Regions from separate parts of the Homo sapiens genome. Here all the other regions are linked to region 1. Evidence: promoter capture Hi-C in human tissues and cell types (Jung and others, 2019). All regions are on one chromosome and are shown on one strand. Each heading gives the region's core, a stretch centred on a gene start or on the middle of the fragment in contact. The rest is flanking DNA. Distances are from core to core; before and after follow the strand shown. Region 1 holds the start of RNF222 (ring finger protein 222). Region 2 overlaps MYH10 (myosin heavy chain 10). Region 3 overlaps MYH10 (myosin heavy chain 10).

Region 1 (2,859 bases), core at 14-2,513:
GATGGCCTCTCCGGACAATCCTTCCCCCTTCCAATGATGGCCTCTCTGGACAGTCCTTCCCGCTTCCAACGATGGCCTCTCTGGGCAATCCTTCCCCCGTCCCGTGCTTCCGGAGAGCCACGCCGTCAACACCTGGACGATGCTACCTCCTTCCCCACCTTCTTGCCTCCCTTTCTCAGTCTTTCCCTGACCCCTCCCTCTGCCTCTCTCGCTTTCTGAATCCCATTCCATTCCCCATCCTTGAGTTCCTCTTATGGTATGATTCTGTTTGGATGCTGGGGTGAGGGAGAGGGCAACAGAAGAAATGCAAGGAACATACTCTAGTTTGAGCACAAACGAGTTGAAGAAGAATGCAGTAAGTGCCAAAGCATCCCTGTTGGTGCCTTAGGAAACTGAGGGGAGAGGAGGGCTGGAAAGTATTCCTAGGTGAAGTGGGACCAGTATTGAGCTAATAATAAATAATTATTATTATTTACAACAGCGACCATTTATTGAATCCTAATTATATGCTTGGCATTTTGCATCCCTTCCTCTTCTGATCCTGACAACAAGGCTGGGGCGTAGGGATTATCTTCATTTTACAGATAAGGGACCTGAGGCTCAGAGCTTAAGACTTTGTCTTCAGACTTTGGTCAAAGGAATAGAAGAAATAGCACTGTTAGAAAAGTGACTACCCAAAGTTCCTTCCTCTTTAGGTTTAGAGTGACCCTAAACAAGGATGCCCCTCTGGCCACCTGGGAGGCAGGGGGAAGGCAATGGCTGGCCCAAGGGAGCTGACCTTGGGAAGCCCCAGTACTGAGCCTCCCCCACAGCAGTAGCCCATCTCCGGAACAGAGTGTGGGGGCAGGTGTCCCCACCCCAGAGAAAACACCCCCCATCCCCACCTCAGCACAGGAGCCAGTGGGACAGAATGATACTTCCAGGCACCTGGGATTCCCTCCTGGAGCCCCAGTGCAAGGTCCTATAGCTTTAGCTGTGACTAGTTGCTCACCCACAGGTATCTCTTTCTCTCTCTCTCTCAATTTCTCTCTCTCTCATTCTCCTGCATCCTTCCAATGTTGGCAACCTTCCAACATTGCCAAGCTCCTTCCCCACGCCCATCCAGGCCCCTAGACTCACTTTAGCTGGGACCGGAGAGAGCAGCATCCACCTTCCCTCCTGGGGCCTCCAGCAGATCTGAGCCACCCCGAGGTGCTGAGCAGCAGCACGATCTCCTCCTGTTGCTGTTAGTGTGACCGCCACCGCCGAGGCAATTCCTAATGACAGAGCAGGTCGGGAGGACAGCGCGAGGAAGTGAATGTCGCCCAACCCGTTTGAGGCCAGGAGGCTTTGGCGTTGCCCAGGGGGTTGGCAGCTGCTGGAGTCAGGTGATCTTGCTGAGGATGCCAGGAGAGGAACCCCCAGCTTGAGGAGGAGCCCAGGGGTGGGTGCTCAGGAGAGTCAGAGGGTCTCACAGTGGAGGCAGTGACCCAGGACCCCTTTGACTGAGGCTCCCCAGGCATGGGTCTCCCTATCAATAGGAAAGTCACCCACACTGTCCTTCCCACCCTCCTGGACCCATTTCTGTGATCCCCATCTTCCCCCCACACCCCTATCCTCACACCATGCACAGGGTGAAGGGGTCAGTAGTAGATCAGCCTCGGGAAGTCTATGACACTCAGAGTCATATATTTGTGGGATCTGCCTGTGTGCATTTGTCATTCATGGAACACCCAAAGGCGCTTAGAACTCCAAAGACCCAGCACCACTGGCATAAAGAACGAGGCGAGTAAGACCAGTGAAGCAGGAATGCACACAGATATGGAAAGAAGTCCCCGGCATCATGATAAATGGAAGCAACTTTCAGAACAGCCTGTGTAATACAATTCTATTTATGAAGATAATAATACATGATCATATTCATAGAGGAAAAGCTGGAAGAAAACACATCAGACTGTTAATAGCAGTTATCTCTGGAGAGACTTTCTAAGTTTTATATTTCTGTGATGTTTGCATTTTCACCCTGAATGTATGTTTCTTTTGTGATTAGAGAAAAAGTCATCCACTGGGTATGGTGGCTCATGCCTGTAATCTCAGCACTTTGGGAGGTTGAGGCGGGCAGACTGCTTGAGGCCAGGAGTTCGAGACCAGCCTTGCCAACATGGTGAAACCCTGTTGCTACTAAAAATACAAAAATTAGCTGGGCAAGGTGGTGCAAGCCTGTAGTCTCAGCTACTCGGGAGGCTGAGGCACAAGAATTGCTTGAATCCAGAAGGTGGAGGTTGCAGTGAGTGAGCCAAGATTGCACCACTGCACTCCAGCCTGGATGACAGAGTGAGACTGTCTCAAAGAAAAAGAAAAAGTCATCAAGAATAATGGAGGAATGAAGTTCGGGGAACTGGAAATCATTTTGGAGGATTCCCTCCCAGTCCTCTCAGGAGGTCCCCAAGAAACCAGTTTTCTTCTGAAAAAGTAAGTTACTGGGTCCAAGGCACAGCCCAGCATGTGTGTGACCCCATAGGATGACACAGGATGACCCCTCTTCTGTCCGATCAGTCATGGCCCTGGCTTAATGGACACCTTGAAGCTGGTGGGGAGGACAGTCAGGCCAGTGCACTCGGCCACTTCACCATGGACAGAGATCCGTGAGTGCAAGCCGTCGTCACAGTCTCTCTTGTTCTTTCCCTGGGAGTTCCAGGTGGTCCTAGATTAGCAAATGAAAATGCAGTATGCCCAGGTAAATTAGAATTTCAGACAAACAACGAATGCTTTTTGGTATAAATATGTCCAGTACAATACAGTACAATATCTGGGATTTTTTTTTTTCTGAGACAGAGTCTCGATCTGTCACCCAGGCTGGAGTGCAGTGGCCACAAGCTC
Region 2 (2,899 bases), core at 342-2,841, 170 kb after region 1:
TTCCTTGGCGGCAGGCCGAGGGGAGAGAATATCTGTTAAAAGTTAAAAAAGCTTTCTCCTCACATCTATAATAAATACTTTCAGAATTAACATTTTTATTGAAACACACATCTAGACTAAATTGGAAAATACGAGTTTTACTTTTAAGTGGGAACGCTATCTTTAAACATTATGTGAAGAAATCTGTGCCGAAAATGCCCACTCCATAATTGATTTGCATAAAGGTCAGATTATGGTACTTAGAATATTCAATCGGAACTTCACCAGTAAAAACAAAAGCATGGAAAACCCCCAAAACGTGACAAGTACCTTGTGTATTAATTACAGCTACACATTTTGATAACGCTTATTGTATACCAATCCAGAAACAAGTGAAATTACACGTGTACTGTGAGAGCTCTCAACAGCAAAGACAACTAGAATTCTCTCATATATAATCAAATATAACTTGTTAAGGATTTCACTCAAAATGTGCAATAGGGAAACCCGGATATTTGATATTTTCATACCCTGAAGAAAATAAAATGAAAATTATCTTAATTAGTTTCAAAAATTTTGTTTGTTCTGAATTGACATCGATTTCTAGAATCTTTTCTGGGGTGATTATAATGTATCTATAGTAACTAAAACTAGATTAGTTATTAGTTAGCAACTTAATTTAGGGGCAATGCAGGTTTGTTTCATATTCTGAACATATTTTCCCCCTTCTTAATTTGGCATCTAAAGTTATTACATGATCTGCAGTATGCATTAAAACACATCAGCACAGATAGGGTGCTATGCATGTGTGTTAGCTATTTGCCCTAAATGAGAAAATCCATTCTAGGAGTAATGAGCTAGCACTTAATCCAAAGGCCAGATGGCCACCTTAAATGCTTTAGCTATCTTAATCTCCAAACCAAACCAGAAGCTTTGTTGTTAGTAAAATGAGTTTTCACATGCACTAAGTGGCCTCATTACTTAGTATAATGGATATTAGAAATCACTAGGGTAACATGAGTGGCATTAAGCCATGGACTGATTAGAAAGAGATATATATTAACTTCAAATAGAGCCTTAAAAAAAGATAAATACATAAATAAAAACAAAGAAAGATATATATAGACCCTCCCCAATCCGGGGTCAAGGGAACAAGTGTTGAGACTCCAGCAAGTCCAGGAGGCTGTATTGTTGGGGGTGCTCCTAGAGCTTGATACTAAATGGCTGTGTGCAGCCAGTGATCTGGAAGATGCTGGTTGCCTGGTGCAGACCATATTCTGTCACTGATACTGTCACATTTGCCTCAGTAAATCTTTCAGGTAAACGTTTGGTTAGAGAAATTAAACAGAGCTGGGCTGCATGCAACTTACAAAACTGTTTTCAGCAACTGCCTTTTGATAAATAGATATGAGGGTGCAGAATCCGGACGTGCTTTCATTATAACCTGGTCGCCAAACTGTAAGGAGGATGCCTAGAGCCCTTACCTAGCTTTAACTGCTGGAGGATACTTATCTACCAAGAGGTACATAATAGTTGGAAATTGCCAGCCTGGCTTAAGTCAACTTGGAAAAAAAAAAAAAAAAGAGAGAGAGAAAGAAAATAAAAGGAAAGAAAAGAAGGATTTGTGGAAATAGAGAAAGTGATTCTAACTAAAACTCTGTGAGGGAAGATGTACCTGCTGATCCAAACAATCATTTTGAAATTGAAGTCCCTGTTTTTAAAGTTTCATTATGAGAGATTCTTTTTACATAAATCTCCTCCATCTGGAACGCATTTTACTTCTCCATAAACAGAGAACTGGACTAACTGTGAACGATTATTTTCTTAAGGGTAATGCTCTCCTAAATAAAGAATCCCTTTAATATAAACCATATGCTAGTATCTTTGAAAGAAAAGATATTCTTCAGGAAATTAGTCGTCTATATCAGATCAAAGAAATGGAACCAAATGGATTCTAAAGCTTATGGAGTTTATAGCCTCAAATATTTTCACTGTAAGCATGTAGCTTATAAATATGACTGCATGAAATTTCACTGTATACACAACTCATTTTTTAACATCGTACTACTCTTGGTATGACATTGATCTCAACCCAAGGCCTGGCCTGCCCACGGAGCAACTGCCTCCCTCATGTTCTCTACCCTTGCTTCTAAAATGGGGGCATGCATATTCTCAGAGGATCTAGCATATGCACTACCTTCCCCGAGCTCAACAACATCATGACATGCCGTTGAAAACATATTAAAGTTAACACCAATATGAAGGTGTGCTCTACAGGGCTAGGGAACCTTAGTTTTGACCACTGGTATATTCCCAGGGCCTGGAAGAGTGTATGGCACTTTGTAGTGTCTGCCACATTTTCAGTAAATGAATTCCATAAAATCCATAAATATACCTGTGGGGCACTATGCTAGGAACCAAAGATACAAAGTCCCTACTGACAAAGATCTTAGACATTCTACTAGGAAAGATAATAAATACACAAAGTAATTAGTTACAGCTTGTGATAGGTGCCATGAGGGAAATAAACAGGATACTGTGATAGAGAATAATAGAAGAAATATCCTCAGATATGGTTTTAGACTAACTAGCTAGTTAGGAGAAGAAATGTGGACAGATCTGAAACACCTTCTAGATGTTTAACCAACAGGATTCACTGTTGGCCTGGACGTGGGCCATGAGAAAAAGGCTGATTCCTAGGTATTTTGTCTTTCTAGGTTTTGCTATTGCTTTTATTTTAAGTTTAACCAACTGGGTGATTTCATAATACCATCTATTGATGTAAGACATAAAGGAACAAATTTTGAAAGGAAAGGAAAAACTTTCATTTGGAATATGTTAAACTTCAAGAATCTATTGACATCCATTTGGAGATATCAATTAAGCTGCACAGTGGCTGGCAAATAATAGGTGCTTAATA
Region 3 (2,700 bases), core at 33-2,532, 210 kb after region 1:
TGCCCAAAGCAAAACTCTAGAATAAGCTTAATGCCAGCCAGAGTCTCAAACTATTTCCACAATTCCTTGTACACAATAACTGGGCATATGAGGCAACAAGTTGTGGCTGAAATCCAAGATAATATCTGGAACCTCTGTGTGTCTATTTTTATTGACTTGTATTATTGCCCTGGGTTACAATATGTTCAAGTAATTAAAGACGTGACTGAGAATTCTGACAGAGAACTGGAAACTATTAAAGGAAAAACCCAAATGAAAATTCTAAAACTGAAAAACAAAACAAAACAAAACAAAACAAAAAAAGAAAACCAGTAACTACAATTAAGAATTCATGTGTTAAACAGCAAGCTAGATACAGCTGAAGAAACAATTAGTTACACGGCATTTTAATCAGAGGCAAACAGCCAGAGTGATCCATGGGGGAAAAACAAGGATAAAAATGTAGAGGAATGTGAGACCCAGATGGGACGAGGTGAAACGATCTGGAGCATGTGAAGTATGTGAGTCCAAGAAGGAGAAAAAAGAGAATGAGGCAGAAGCAGTATCTGAAGAGATAATGGCTAAGAATTTTCCCGGACCAACAAAAGCCATCAAGCCACAGAGTCAAAACCACTACAATCTCCAAGCTGAATGCAGTAGTGCCCCTTATCTGTGGTTTCACTTTCTGCAGTTTGTTGTCCACAATCAACTGTGGTCCAAAAATATTTGTTGAAAAACTCCAGAAATAAACAGTTCATACATTTTAAATTGTGCACTATTCTGAGTAGTGTGATGAAATCTGGCACAATTCCGCTCCATCGTGCACAGACCGTGAATTATCCCTTCGTCCAGCATCATCATGCTGTACAGCTATTAATCACTTGGTAGCCCTCTCAGATCTCAGATCAACTGTGTTCAAGTCACCTTTATTTTACTTAAGAATAGCCCCAAGCACAAGAGTAGTGATGCTGGCAATTCTGATATGCCAAAGAGAAGCCACAAAGTGCTTCCTTTAAGTGATATGGTAAGTTTTCAACTTAATAACGATAAAATCATATGCTGAGGCTGCTAGGATCTATGGGAAGAATCAATCTTCTATCTGTGAATTTGTGAACTAGGAAAAAGAAATTCATCAAATCATCACAAGAAGAGTACAATAAGATATTCTGAAAGAGGGAGAGAAACCACTTACATAACTTTTATTAAGTATATTGTTTTAATTGCTCTATTTTAATAGTTATTGTTGTTAATCTCCCACCACGCCTAAATTGTAAATTAAATTTTATCATAGGTATGGCCAGGTGCGGTGGCTCACACCTGTAATCGCAGCACTTTGGGAGGCCAAGGAGGGGGCAGATCACGAGGTCAGGAGTTCAAAACCAGCCTGACCAACACGGTGAAACCCCGTCTCTACTAAAAATACCAAAATTAGCCAGGCGTGGTGGCGCACGCCTGTAATCCCCGCTACTCAAGAGGCTGAGGCAGTGGAATTGCTTGAACTGGCAGGTGGAGGTTGCAGTGAGCCGAGATTGCACCGTTGCACTCCAGCCTGGGCTACAGAGGGAGACTCTGTTCTGTCTCAAAAAAAAAAAAAAATTATCATAGGTATGTATGTATAGGAAAAAACATCATATATATATGGTTCAGTACCATTTGTGGTTTCAGGCATCCACTGGGGATCTTAGAATGTATCCCTTGAAGACAAGGAGGACCCACTATATACAAAATAAAACTTTACCTAAGCCCATCACAGTAAAAGTGTTGAAATCCAAAGACAGAGAAAATTTTAGAGACAGCCAGTGGCCGGGGTGGGAAAAGGAAAACCGATGACCTTCAAGGGAACAACAATCAAACTACAAGCTGAATTCTCAACAGAAAAAGACGAAAGGCAGAACCCGATGCAATGGCATTTTCACAATGTTAAAAGAAAACAACCGCCGGCTCTGAATTCCAAATCCAGCAAAAACCAAAAAAACTTCAAAAATAAAGGACGAGTAGATACTTCAGATAAAAGGGGCCCTTTCTAAAAGAACGGAAGCTAAAAGATGTGGAAAAAAAAGAGTAATGGATAAAACTAAATGAATATCGACAGTATTAAAATGTAATATGTGTCTTGTGGGTTTTAAAATATAGAGAGAATTAAACAACAAAAGCACATAAATTAGGAAGGAAGAGGAAATAAATTTGTTCAGGTGCTCTCAGGCCCTACCTATCATGATCTACAAAAGAATAAGAGCTCCACATGTCTAACAGGTCAAGGATCCATGTTGGAATATGTAACCACTAAAAGAATAGCTAAGCAAATAGCAAAAATGGACAGCTAACACGAGGTGAAAAGACAGAATAATAAAAATTATAACCAACGGACAAAAAGATTAAAAAATAAACATAGAGCGGGTAGGATAAAAAGAAAGCAATGAATCAGAGGACAGATTTAAGCTAAAATGTAACAGTCATTACATCACATGTACATAAACTAAATATTCCAGCTGAAAAATATTGTCAGATTTGGGACAAAAATAACCACCATAAGCAGTTTATGAGAGACATATTTTAAAGGCACAGGCACAGAAAAGCTGAAAGTAAGTTAAGAAAGCAATTAACCACACAAACACTAATCCAAAAAAAAAAGGCTAATGCAAATATCAGACTTTGCAAGAAAACAACAGTCAATTTTGCAAGAAAACAACATCACTAAAAATGACCATTCCATGATTTGCC

What was found. The method cuts DNA at HindIII sites, captures the fragments that hold promoters and counts their contacts. A contact is called where the count stands out against the background at its distance.
Region 2: a contact is called between a fragment that was not itself captured here and the fragment with the promoter of RNF222 in region 1, in 1 of the 25 tissues and cell types used here (lymphoblastoid cells).
Region 3: a fragment that was not itself captured here is called in contact with the fragment with the promoter of RNF222 in region 1 in 1 of the 25 tissues and cell types used here (aorta).

What each region holds. Positions count from the first base shown.
Region 1 is chr17:8,396,564-8,399,422 of GRCh38, forward strand. RNF222 (ring finger protein 222) reads right to left here and starts at 1,264. Exons shown (of 3, transcript NM_001146684.3): 1 at 1,132-1,264. The HindIII fragment of the contact is 8,302 bases long and covers 1-2,859 here.
Region 2 is chr17:8,562,346-8,565,244 of GRCh38, forward strand. All of the region lies in intron 7 of MYH10 (myosin heavy chain 10), which reads right to left. Among named protein-coding and RNA genes, the nearest start is that of MYH10, 67 kb to the right of the region's middle. The HindIII fragment of the contact is 5,307 bases long and covers 1-2,899 here.
Region 3 is chr17:8,611,295-8,613,994 of GRCh38, forward strand. The region is part of intron 2 of MYH10 (myosin heavy chain 10); the gene reads right to left. Among named protein-coding and RNA genes, the nearest start is that of MYH10, 18 kb to the right of the region's middle. The HindIII fragment of the contact is 6,260 bases long and covers 1-2,700 here.